2 separate regions of the Homo sapiens genome follow, and region 2 is linked to region 1. The links are contacts of gene promoters, found by promoter capture Hi-C in blood cells and fetal thymus (Javierre and others, 2016). All regions are on one chromosome and are shown on one strand. The core of a region is centred on a gene start or on the middle of the fragment in contact, and the rest is flanking DNA. Distances in the headings are between cores, read along the strand shown. Region 1 holds the start of MIR155HG (MIR155 host gene). Region 2 overlaps APP (amyloid beta precursor protein).

What was found. The method cuts DNA at HindIII sites, captures the fragments that hold promoters and counts their contacts. A CHiCAGO score of 5 or more calls a contact.
Region 2: a fragment that was not itself captured here is called in contact with the fragment with the promoter of MIR155HG in region 1 in 1 of 17 cell types (non-activated CD4 T cells); the score reaches 5.1 in non-activated CD4 T cells.

What each region holds. Positions count from the first base shown.
Region 1 is chr21:25,560,071-25,565,841 of GRCh38, reverse strand. It overlaps MIR155HG (MIR155 host gene), which reads right to left and starts at 3,697. Exons shown (of 3, transcript NR_001458.3): 1 at 3,585-3,697. RefSeq lists silencers at 373-432, 3,353-3,632, 3,643-3,732 and enhancers at 891-970, 4,113-4,162. The HindIII fragment of the contact is 13,141 bases long and covers 1-5,771 here.
Region 2 is chr21:26,066,699-26,072,469 of GRCh38, reverse strand. All of the region lies in intron 3 of APP (amyloid beta precursor protein), which reads left to right. Among named protein-coding and RNA genes, the nearest start is that of APP, 100 kb to the left of the region's middle. The HindIII fragment of the contact is 3,912 bases long and covers 1,041-4,952 here.

The sequences.
Region 1 (5,771 bases), core at 2,448-4,947:
TTTATGGAGAACTGGCATAAATGTCATTGTAGGGCACTGTTTCACCTTATCCAAACATCGGCCTCACAATTTCATTAAATCAGCTATTTGATATTCCTCACTAATCTTTCCTTCTGCCAGTGCCTTAACCCTGTCTACCCACACAAGGTAGCAATATCTGTGCTAATCTGTCCTAACAATTAGCACAGATATTAGTGATCTGTGCTAATTGGTTAATATGTCTGCTAATTGTTTCTCAGAATTAGCACAGATATTCACAATCTGTTTTAAACTACAGCCACTTAAGCTATGTTAAGCCTCACTTTCTGGTGAGTGTGTCACTGTGTGTAAGGGTGGTAATTTTAGGAATCACATCTTCTTCCACATTGCTGAGAGCCTTGGACTTGTGAGTGAGGATGCTGAACTGCTCAGACATATGATGTGCCTATTTGAGGATAGATGTGCTTTTGCACTGGTTTTGCTTGAGGCTCTGCATATTGTAAACCCAAATACATTGATTGATGGACAGAACAAGTGTTTCAGGGCAGATGAGAATTACACAGCAGTGATCATATTAAAAGCATTGCATTTCCTTAAGAGTCTGAGATAAGAAAATTTTTTTCATATATATGTGAAACTCGTATATGAAAGTTGTAGCTACTGAGAGGTGGGATAAAAAGAGGCTTTTAAAATTGTAATATTTTTCCTTGAAAAGTAGTGTTTCACAATTTTTTTATTCTATCTAATTTAAGGAAACATGTAACAGTTTTGAGTCCAGTAAGATCAGTGAAAGACAAAAATACATTCTATAGTGAATTATAGTGGTACTTACTTTGACTTACTTTGGACATAGAGGATATAAATTCACTAAGACCAGCTGTGTCTCAGGAGGTATATGAAAGTGAGCTTGGTAGTTACACTGGAATCACAGAATTTCATCAGTGTAAGGGATTTTAGAAATGGTTCAGTCCCTGCCACCCATCAACCACCCATCTTAGAGATGAGCAAAATGAGGCACAGAAATCTGCAGAGTTGGTCCTAGAAACAAACCATGGTTCTCAGGCCGGTGCTCCTTCCCCAGTATTAGACTTCTGCAGAGTGGCAGCCTGATATCAAAACAATAAGGCTGTTAAAATCAATAGCTTCAGCTAAGCAATAGCCAATGACTATCAAAAATGGAGACACCAGCTAGTTAAGGGCACTAGCTGGTGCCCAGTCCAAGTGATAGAGGTGCCCAGTCCAAGTGAAGGGCAAGAGTCTACATACCACTTTCCTCTATTCAAGCTATTTATGCCTACTAGGTTTAGAATACTGATTATGAAAGTGGACCCCCGAAGAGGGTCATGGCTGAGATTCAAGGAAGTCTCTAGCCTGCTAACATCGAATGCAAATTGGTGTGTGAGGATACACATTAACAAAAATTTTCTGGGAAGAGCATATAAAATTTCCATTAGATTCTCAAGGAGGTAGGAATAAAGGATTTTAGTAACTATTACTCTAAAATGAAAGAATTCCTTTAAATTGAATGGCAGATCTTAGTCATGACCTGAAAAGCTGATAAAAAAAAACTTTTCAAAAGTTAAAACCTAGGGCTTTTTGGGGTAGATTTTTTGATTTATAGAGGACTGGTAAGATGAGGTATTTAAAGATGAGGGTTACAAATTTTCCATGTTGGCATATGGAAAGTAAAGAATGGCAAAATTTGTAGCACATTCTAATTAGTTCAAATATCTATGTTACCAAAATTGAAATGATATCAAATTGCACAGCAATGTCCTGATGGCCTTTCCTCTAACTTTCTGGGTTTGTAAGGGTAGGGTTGTGCCTATCCTGCTCACCTTTGTCTCTCCAGTGTCTAGCATAGCGTCCAGCACAGGCAGACTATGATGCCTGTTTTTTTTTTGTTGTTGTTTTTTTTTTTTTTTTTTTGGTAAAGACCAGTGAATTACACTTTTTACACATGACTAGGTTAAAACAAAAGTAGACATTTGTGCAAACACCACTGTTCTCCCTTGAAGTGGTTGTAGGTCTCAGACAGTGCTAATTTTTCTCTTTCTTAATGTGTGTGGTTAGGAAGCTGGGTCCTGTGGCCAGAGTGAGCTGACCCACTATGTGAGGAAACTTACTTATCACAGCCTAATAAGGAGTAGTCCTTGCAGCAGAAGTAATTACTAAATGTGCTTTGGTCATTTGACAGAAATCAGGGAGGCAGCAAGGAGTCATGGAAATGAGCCCAAACTGAGAGTCAAAACCCTGTGGTCTGCCGACACCCCCATCCCACATCCGTACCTAAAAGCAGGCTGTGCACTAGGGACCTAGTGACCTTACTAGAAAAAACTCAAATTCTCTGAGCCACAAGTCCTCATGGGCAAAATGTAGATACCACCACCTAACCCTGCCAATTTCCTATCATTGTGACTATCAAATTAAACCACAGGCAGGAAGTTGCCTTGAAAACTTTTTATAGTGTATATTACTGTTCACATAGATAAGCAATTAACTTTACATATACCCGTTTTTAAAAGATCAGTCCTGTGATTAAAAGTCTGGCTGCCCTAATTCACTTCGATTATACATTAGGTTAAAGCCATATAAAAGAGGCACTACGTCTTCGGAGAGATGAATGGATATTACAAGCAGTAATTTTGGCTTTGGAATATACACATAATGTCCACTTGACCTCATCTATTTGACACAAAATGTAAACTAAATTATGAGCATCATTAGATACCTTGGCCTTTTCAAATCACACAGGGTCCTAGATCTGCTGTGTGATGCTGGAAAAGTAACTTCACTTCTGTGGGCCTCAGCTCCTTAATTTTTAACATACTTTGGATTCTTATATCTTTGTCAGCTGTCAACTTCAGTGTTTTCAGGTTAAATTCTATCCATAGTCATCCCAATATACCTGCTTTAGATGATACAAACTTCAAAAGATCCGGCTCTCCCTCGTAAAACGTGGAGGACAGACATCAAGGGGGTTTTGTGAGTAAAGAAAGGCAACCGCTCGGCAAAAACGCACCCTGGCACAACAGGAGCGAATAAATACAGACGCTGATTGAGCGTTTGCTCCATCTTCACTTCTGTTAAATGAAGACATTGATATCTAAAATGCTATGAGTCTAACTTTGTAAAATTAAAATAGATTTGTAGTTATTTTTCAAAATGAAATCGAAAAGATACAAGTTTTGAAGGCAGTCTCTTTTTCCACCCTGCCCCTCTAGTGTGTTTTACACACTTCTCTGGCCACTCCAACAGGGAAGCTGGTCCAGGGCCATTATACAGGTACGTCCCCAACCATCCAAGGAAACTTTGCAAAGAAGCTCAAGTATTAGGTTTCGAACACCCCTCCTTCCCCCTGCCTCTGCCCGCGGGAATCCATCCAGCGCAATCTCTGGTCCCGGGCGAGGCGACACCACTGAGTCCCCAGGGGGCACCCGCAGGCGCGCGCGGGACCAGGCCGGGCTCCACGGCCACGTGCGCGCTGCCCCCGCCTTGCCTCGCCAGTTAACCCGGCGGTGACCCTCGCACCGAAGTCCCCCGGCGTCCCTGCCACGTTCAAGAGAGGAAAGGCGGGCGGGAGCGCGAGACTGAAGTCGGCGTACCTGCAGTGCCAGGAGCGTCTCCTTGGTTCCCCGCGCTTGCTCTGCGGGCGGCTCGGGGCTCCGCTATCCGCTCCCTTCCCGAGGCTGCAGGCGGCGCTGGGCCCGGGCTCGGCCGCGCACAGGAAGCCCGCGCCTGCGAACGTGCGACCCTTTTATAACTCACTTGTGACTCATAACCGACCAGGCGCCTTTTCTGCAACCCCCCCCCCCTTCTCCCCCCTCCTGCCTGTTCTTGGAACCTACAGCTTGAAAAACTTTTTTCTTTTTAAAGGAAAAGTCGAAAAAGCCCAGCGCCCGGGTAGTTGGTGTTTTCCCCTTTCCCTTTCTCGTGGGTCATTGCGTGTGTGTATTTTTTTTCTCTCAACACACGCCGTGTACTTTCCTGCACCGCGCCGCAAGGCTTGGGCTCCAACCTTTGTTCTTAAAGAAAAGGAAACGCCTTCAAATGACGGCCCAGACGTCGCCCGAACTTTCAGTCGGCTGGAGGGGGAAGTGGCGACTTCTTGCAACTGGGTGGCAGGAGTGTCTCTACTCTCTCCTTGCAGGGAGCCCGAGAGGAGCAAGTGGGAGGTTTTTCCTCCTGGACCGAATCAGCTGGAGACCAGCAGGTCCCTAAGAGAGGAAGAAATGGTCTTCAGGCGATCCTGGATTTCATCCCTACCTCATCACCCTTCAAGAGCCCGCGTTTGGTTTGGAATACGTAACTGGGCTTTGAGAACGTTTGTACTGTGTCTGGTACCCGCATTTATACTCGGGATGTCAAGATATAGGACTTAAAACTTCAAAAATTTTGACCTCAACAACATTCTCCCCCTGCCCTCCACTCCCATCTCCAGGACATATTCCTGGAGCATATGGGACTTCGGTCGTTTTAATTTTTGGTTTTGTCGCTTCTCTCTTTTCTCCCGGACCCTGCCACAAGGGGAACATTTTCCTGGAGCAGCCATTTGATTTTGGGGGATGGAAAGGAACAAATAGATCTAAAGCCTGGCAAGTTTATCCTACAAGCCTAGTCGAGTAACTCATTCATGGGTCTCAGTTCAATAAACGTTTAGACTTGAAGAAGAATAAGGAAATATGGGGAAGAGAAGGAGGACAGGAATAGATCTAGCCTCATCAACATGTGACTGGGGCCTTTTTGTAAGAAAGACGGGGCCACTGCTGGATTGCATTGCAAGTATCCAGTACTTGGACCTCCCTGTCAAGGGCACAAGACATTTTAGAATAGTTTGTATTAAACTGATGCCAGTTACATGTCAGAATACATGTCAGAGCTGGAAATCCCATAGTACTTAATTTACAGATGGCTCAGGTTGGTTAAGGAACTTGGGAGCATTTTAAAACCCTCTATTCTTAAGATACATGCTTTTTCTCTTATAATTCAAACAAGAATAATCATGATGATAACAACTAACACTTATAAAGCATTTACCATGTGCCAGATCCTGTCCTAACACTCCTTATATGCATTAACTCTTTCAGTCCTCACTATGATCATATGAGGGAGGAGCATTATAATCTCTATTTCCAGATGAGGAAACTGAGCACAGAGAGATTAAACATGTTACCTTAGATCCTAGTAAGTAGTCAAGCTGAGATTCAAACTCAGTTCCAACCCTGGAGGGCTGGCTCCGTAGTCCAGTCTCCCTGCTTTCCAGATCCATGTGACGTTGAGGAGCTGGGGAAGTTGTGCAGTGGGGCATGTGGCAAGGATGCATGGTCCCCACCCAGGTGGGGCACGTCCCTCTGCTGGTTACAGATGCCTACAATGCCTTTCTGAATTTCCCATTTCTCATTCTAGGTTGAACTATAAGAAATTGCCCATAGGCAATTCTAGGGTGACCTTTCATCCCCAGAATGACAAGTTTGTATAATGCACTTTAATAGAAACAGGAAATTGCTCAATCCTCCCTTCTCCCAGTGGTGGAAGTAATTTCAGGTCATGTGCAAACCTCCGCATTTTAGGTCCCAGTTTGAGACACCCAGAATAGTGGATGGATAAATGGGTTTTAGGAGTCAAATACACCTGCATTTTACACTAATTCTAGCTGTGGAATCTGAACGTTAAACTTTTTATGTCTCAGCTTCCTGTAAATGACAATAATGATGTCTCCCATCAGGGATTACTATAGACTGAATCATGTTCTCTTCAACTTTATATGTTGAAGCCCTGATCCCCAATGTTAT
Region 2 (5,771 bases), core at 1,747-4,246, 510 kb before region 1:
TATATTTTTTGCAAAATATCTTTTTTAAAAAAACAGATGTGGTCTCAGCAATGTAATTATTACAGTGTGAGGAGAGCTTACAGTTGTACCAAAATTTATAACTAGGAAGAAGAGAATGTGAAATAATCCGGAAACCTACAAAACTGTCCTATACAGGAATACCAATTAAACAGCTACTAAAAATGAGTGTAAAATGACAATATGGCTTTATCAAGTGCTTAGGGTCTGGAAAAATGCACATATTGCCTGTTATTTATTGTTATACTTAATGAATGTTCTTTTGCACGTGAGAACTGTTATAAAAGATGTCTTTTGTACATACTTGGTACACCAGTTGGCTTTTTAACCCATTAGCTGTTTTCCCCCAAAGGTGGCCTACTCTAGATGACGTTAAAAATACACATTTTCCAGGGACTTATATAAATAGTCAACTGCCCTATTATGGAAACTTAAAAGCGAAGGCCCTGAAATATCCAGACAGTTTGAACATAAACCAAAAATGAAGTGAATCTCTAGAATTGCTGTGTAATAGCGTGAGTGGGGAGGGGGTCCCTCAAGAGAGGGAACTGACCTTTTTCTTCCTCGTGGGTGACCTTGAGTACACACTTTATTTAGTCATTAAAAGGGTCACCTGAAGCTTAGAGAATGAAGATCCTACAGCCTGTTAATTTTATCATTGTTAGAAACTCTCTGCCTTTGGCCTGAAAATGGTAAATCACCTTTCTTAGAAGATTCTCATATCCAGATATTCTTACCAAATCAGAATCTTTTCCAGCATTTTCTTCAAAAAACCACAGTTCTGGGTTAAAACACAGCAGATCCTAACTGTAATTTTCCTTTCATGTACATTTTAGTCATCTTTATAATTTTAAATGAAAGACAGGAACTACATTATTTGAAATAAGGGTTAACCCCCTCTAATTATAAGCATTAATCACACACAGTTTTCTCATTTCTAAATGTTAAATATAAAATGGGAGCTATCTCTTCAGACACTTTTCTGTTGCCTTCTGTGTGCGGCAGGACCTTACTTTTAAGCTTAGTTTGATTTAAAGGCTGAGTTTCTGCTTGCTTGGAATGCTTGCTCTTCAAAATATTTGCTCCCTGGAGAGGGAAACTGAAGATGGAGCTTTCACGTGACTTTGGATTGCTGACCTGGAAGACGTTTGGGGTAATAGGATGGGCTAGGGCATGGTTCCACTGCTTTCTGTTTGAGTGGGGTCAGGAAAGGAAGGCGGGGCTCGCTGTGTGCAAACAGGAAAACATAGTCTGAAGATGTTTGAAGCCTGAGTGCACTTTCATTTGATGCCTTGCTTTATTGCTTAAGAGAATTTTAAACTGCCGAATCCGCAAATGTGCTGCAGCCTATAATGACACATATTTAAATGATTTTTGCATCTAAACAAATGCATTCACTCTTTGCCTGGTGTGTACAATTTGAATGACACTCGTGCTCTGCCTGGAAGGAACAGACGTTTTTCATTATAAAATTCAGTCAAGCAGAAAAGTAGCAAAGGAAGCAGAAATTTCCATTTACATCTATGATTGAAGTTGTAGTGATAAAAGAGGATGACTAAGTTGAAGAGTAGCCTTGTTCTCATTCTGCTATCTGACATGGGATCTTGTCACTTTGGTAATAGTTTTTAAACTTACATTATTGAGGAAGGCTCTGATCAGAAGTCTCAAATTATACATGTTCTTCAACCTTAGATTTTTCTGGGTGTTTTGTTTCAAAAGTCTCAAATTATATATGTTCTTCAACCTTAGATTTTTCTGGGTGTTTTGTTTGGTTTTTTGGTTATCTATAGATAGATTTGAGTATCTCTTTTTTTCTTAAAATCCGTTACTTACTAGTAATAAAGACTTAAGTGGTAGCTTTACGCTCCATTATCACAGAGATTCACAGTACTTTTTAGTTTTTACTTGTGAGCCTCAGCAGGTGTAGACAGATACCTTAGTTGCCACTGATAACATCCAGTTGCCACTAGATCAAGAAATGGTTCAAAATTCTCCAGGGGCATTTTCTGCTAAAGAAGAGTTGGTGATCTTCCTTTTGGAAGCCTTAATGTACTTAAACCTTCTTCCTTAGAAGTCCAGAAATTCAATTATTTCAGCTCTCTGTGGAGTGATAAGTCCTGCCAAATTGATTTACAATAATGAAACTAAGCCTTGTTTACAAATCTAAGTGGTGATTTCTAAGTCCACAGAGGCGTGGTAACAGAGAGAGAGATTCTGATTTATCTGGGGGTCTATCCGTGTTTGAACAGATTGTGTGATTTTTGAAACATGATTCAAAAGGGATGTTGATAAATTCTAAAATACATTTTTATTGAAGAGCTTGATGAATCATGTATACTTACTTTATTTGTTATTCTATTAGATATTGTCTTCCTCATCCCTAGGTGGTGTTGCTAGTACAGTGACAGAATTCAAATCCTTCTTTTTCCTCTGCTCTAACAGAGCTTTGTGAACTCATAGCAATATTGTAATGCCTGGTAAAAGGTGGTGCCAGTTTCAAGTACTATATCCTAATTACTTCATGGCTAACTCTTGTTATTGTTAACAATATTGTTAACTCTTTTGTTAAATGCAGTGACATCTTTTTTCTTTCTCATTCTCTGTGTACTTTTTGCCCTAAATAGTTCTGCATCTTTTAAGATACAAGTTTGCTTTTTCTTGGAGGTTTTTATTTGGAAAATGCCTGAAATATATAGACCAACATTTGTTCCTCCAATGGTTAAATTACATTGTCTCCCAAAGTGAGGCATTTTAAGTCTGGACTATACCCAGGAGAATCTAAAAGAGGCAGTTAATAAGCTCTTGAAGAGCACAGTGGGGTGGTTGTGTATTTATTGAGTCTCACACTTAGGAGAGAAATAGGCTGGACCAAATGAGCCTGGGCATCAAAAGCATGTGGGTGGTCGTTGGTGATATGTGCAGTGATGAGTGTGTGTGCTGAGGGTCCTAGACCAGGCTGGCAGGGAAATGAACTGAAGGCAGTGAAGCCTCCCCTGATAACTGCAGAGAGTGCTGCAGCATCCAGGACCTCAGGATCATGATGAACAAGCTGTAGTGGATGGAAGGGAGAGGAACTATGGGAAGGATGAGTTTCTGGCCAGAAAGTGGTTTACTGGAGTGCTGTGTCTGAGTATTACATGATCTGAGGACCATGAGGTCCAGCTTTGGGAGTATGGAGAGTTTGAGTGGAGTAGAGTTATAGTCCCATGGTCTTCTGATTCACAGACATTCATGAGCGATAAGTATCTATTGAGAAAGTGGAAGCATGATTTTTATGACCTCCTCTTGTTGTGGGGAAATCGATCAACGGGGCCTATATTGGTTGGGTTCTACAACCAAATAGAATGTGTTCAGCAGGAGTCATGTTTTGGGCTCCTCACAATGTTCAGTGTTAGTTCTGTTCCTTTCTCTTGCTTCCACATAGGAAAGACTTTGACCCAATGAGGAATTAGTCATTGTCCTTTGGGTACACTTCCGGAATTTGATAATCAGTTGGGCACTTGATTCTAGTACATTTGCTAAAAGTAATTAATACCCTGCAATTGGAAGCATGCAGCAAGCGACTGGGAATGCTAAGTGAAAGGTCAGAATTGAAAGAGTGGAGGAGGCTGTTGACCCTTAGGCATGGATGATATGTCTGAGTGAGAAAGCAAGAAGAGTAGAAGACAGAGCCTTACTTTATAATCAGAATTATGAAAAGAGGAGCCAATGAGAGGGAAAGAATGATTGGCTTGAGATAGATTGGTGGAAACTGGAGAAGATTGAATTTAAAGAAGAAAAGTGGGCCAAGTTCAGTGGCCCATGCCTAGAATCCCAGCAAATTGGGAGGCTGAAGCTAGGAGAGTTGCTTGAGGCCAGGAGTTTGAGATCAGCTTGGGCAACGTGGCGAGACCCCTGTCTCTACAAAAAATAATTAAAAAAAAAATTAGCCAGGCATGTTGGCATGTGCCGGTAGTCCCGGCTACTTGGAAGGCTGAGACAGGAAGGTTGTCTGAGCCCAGGAGGCTGCAGTGAGCTATGATCACAGCACTGCACTCCAGCCTGGTTGACAGAGGGTATCCCCGTCTCTTTAAAAAAAAAAAAAAAAAGAGAATGTGGCAGAGTAGTCAGAGAACTGGAGGGCTGAGAAGAGACTGATGGCATTTGTTGTTCTTGACCTTGAAAGAAGAGTTGCAGATTGTTGGAGCAAGGCCAGATGGTAATAGGTTGGAAAGAACAAGTGAGGGGCGTGAGAGTGACAGTCTACAACCCCGTTAAGAAGTTATCTGTGAAAATGCCTCTTCCTGTCTTGATTATAGCCTCCCTCGCACATGGCTTTCTGAGTATGGTATGTGAAAACAGCATGCTGTATATTTTTACCTTCCCATATGAGTTAAGGTTTTGGTAATGACTTGTGGTTCTTTTGCCTCACGGAACACCAACCTGGTTGGTATTTTGTCGGCAATTATGTGGTTTTTAAAAAGCCCCGTATATAACCTTAATTAATTGCGTCTCTAAAATCTATCAGGCTTTGAGTTTTTTGTTTTTTTTTTTTAAATAAGGCAGAAAGAAAGGAAAGTGTTAGGAGAAAGCAACCAGTGAGAATACCTATATTTTGAAGAAACAAAGTAGGGAATTTAGAATTATCTCTACTATATCTGCTTTTTCAGCTCATCTCTCGGGATACAGAGGACTGAACTAAGCTAAAGTAGGTTCAAGTCTAAAGGAAACCTTAAATTAATTTCTGTATTAGAATTAATCACACACCTATAAATACAATTTATGATATGAGAACTGCAACAAGAGAAATGGGGGGAGATGAGCAGTTTGCTGATCAATAGGGTTAATGATGGTAACATAGAATCCTAGTGATATGCCTCCCATTGACTAAAATGTATGCGTTAAGATAGCATAGCGCATAAAATGGTGTACTGCAGTCTCAGTGTATTCAAGCTTATTATGGTTTCTCTGCCTAGGTTTGTGTCTTTGGCTTTAGATTTTCTCCCATAACCCCAACCTGTCCACATTCAAGTCACTACTCCTTGAAATATATTATTGATCTCTAAAATCTGATGCTAAGTCTGTCTTGCCCAACGGTGGCCACTAGCCACCCATGGCCATTGAATATTTGAAACCTGGCTAGTCCAAACTATGCTGTGAGTATAAAAAACCCACCAGATATTAAAAAGTTAGTCTGGGAGAAAAAAACAAATGTAGAATGTCTTAATGATAATTATTTACATTGATTGCATGTTGAAATGATGAAATTTAGGATGTACTGGGTTAAAATATATTAATAAAATTAATTTTACCTGTTTCTTTTTACCTTTTTATGTTAATGTGGCTACAGGAAATTTTAAATTAGATATGTGGCCTCTATTATATTTCTGTGAGACAAAGCTGCTCCAAGCTGTTTTGGTCCAGAACTATATCTCGGTTCTTTTGTATCCTACATGGACCTGCATAGAATGGTATTTAGTAATACTCAGCAGTAGCAGAGATGATCTCTTATCAAATTATGTTAAGTTTTAATTTTTATTCTTGTCTCTCACCCTATGTGCACCTCTCTGGCCAGGAGGCATTTATCATATCACCTTTTAATATTTGGAAATCACTTGATCTGCTTGAGTCATTGTGTTGTTTTCAAATCTAGAACTCTTTCTACCTTATTTTGTAACTTCTATAATTAAACAAAAGGCGAACCAGGAGCAGCTTGGCTCTTAGGGATGTGTGAAAAGGCGCTCAGTCCTTAAGTTGGTGCCAAAAGTGACAAA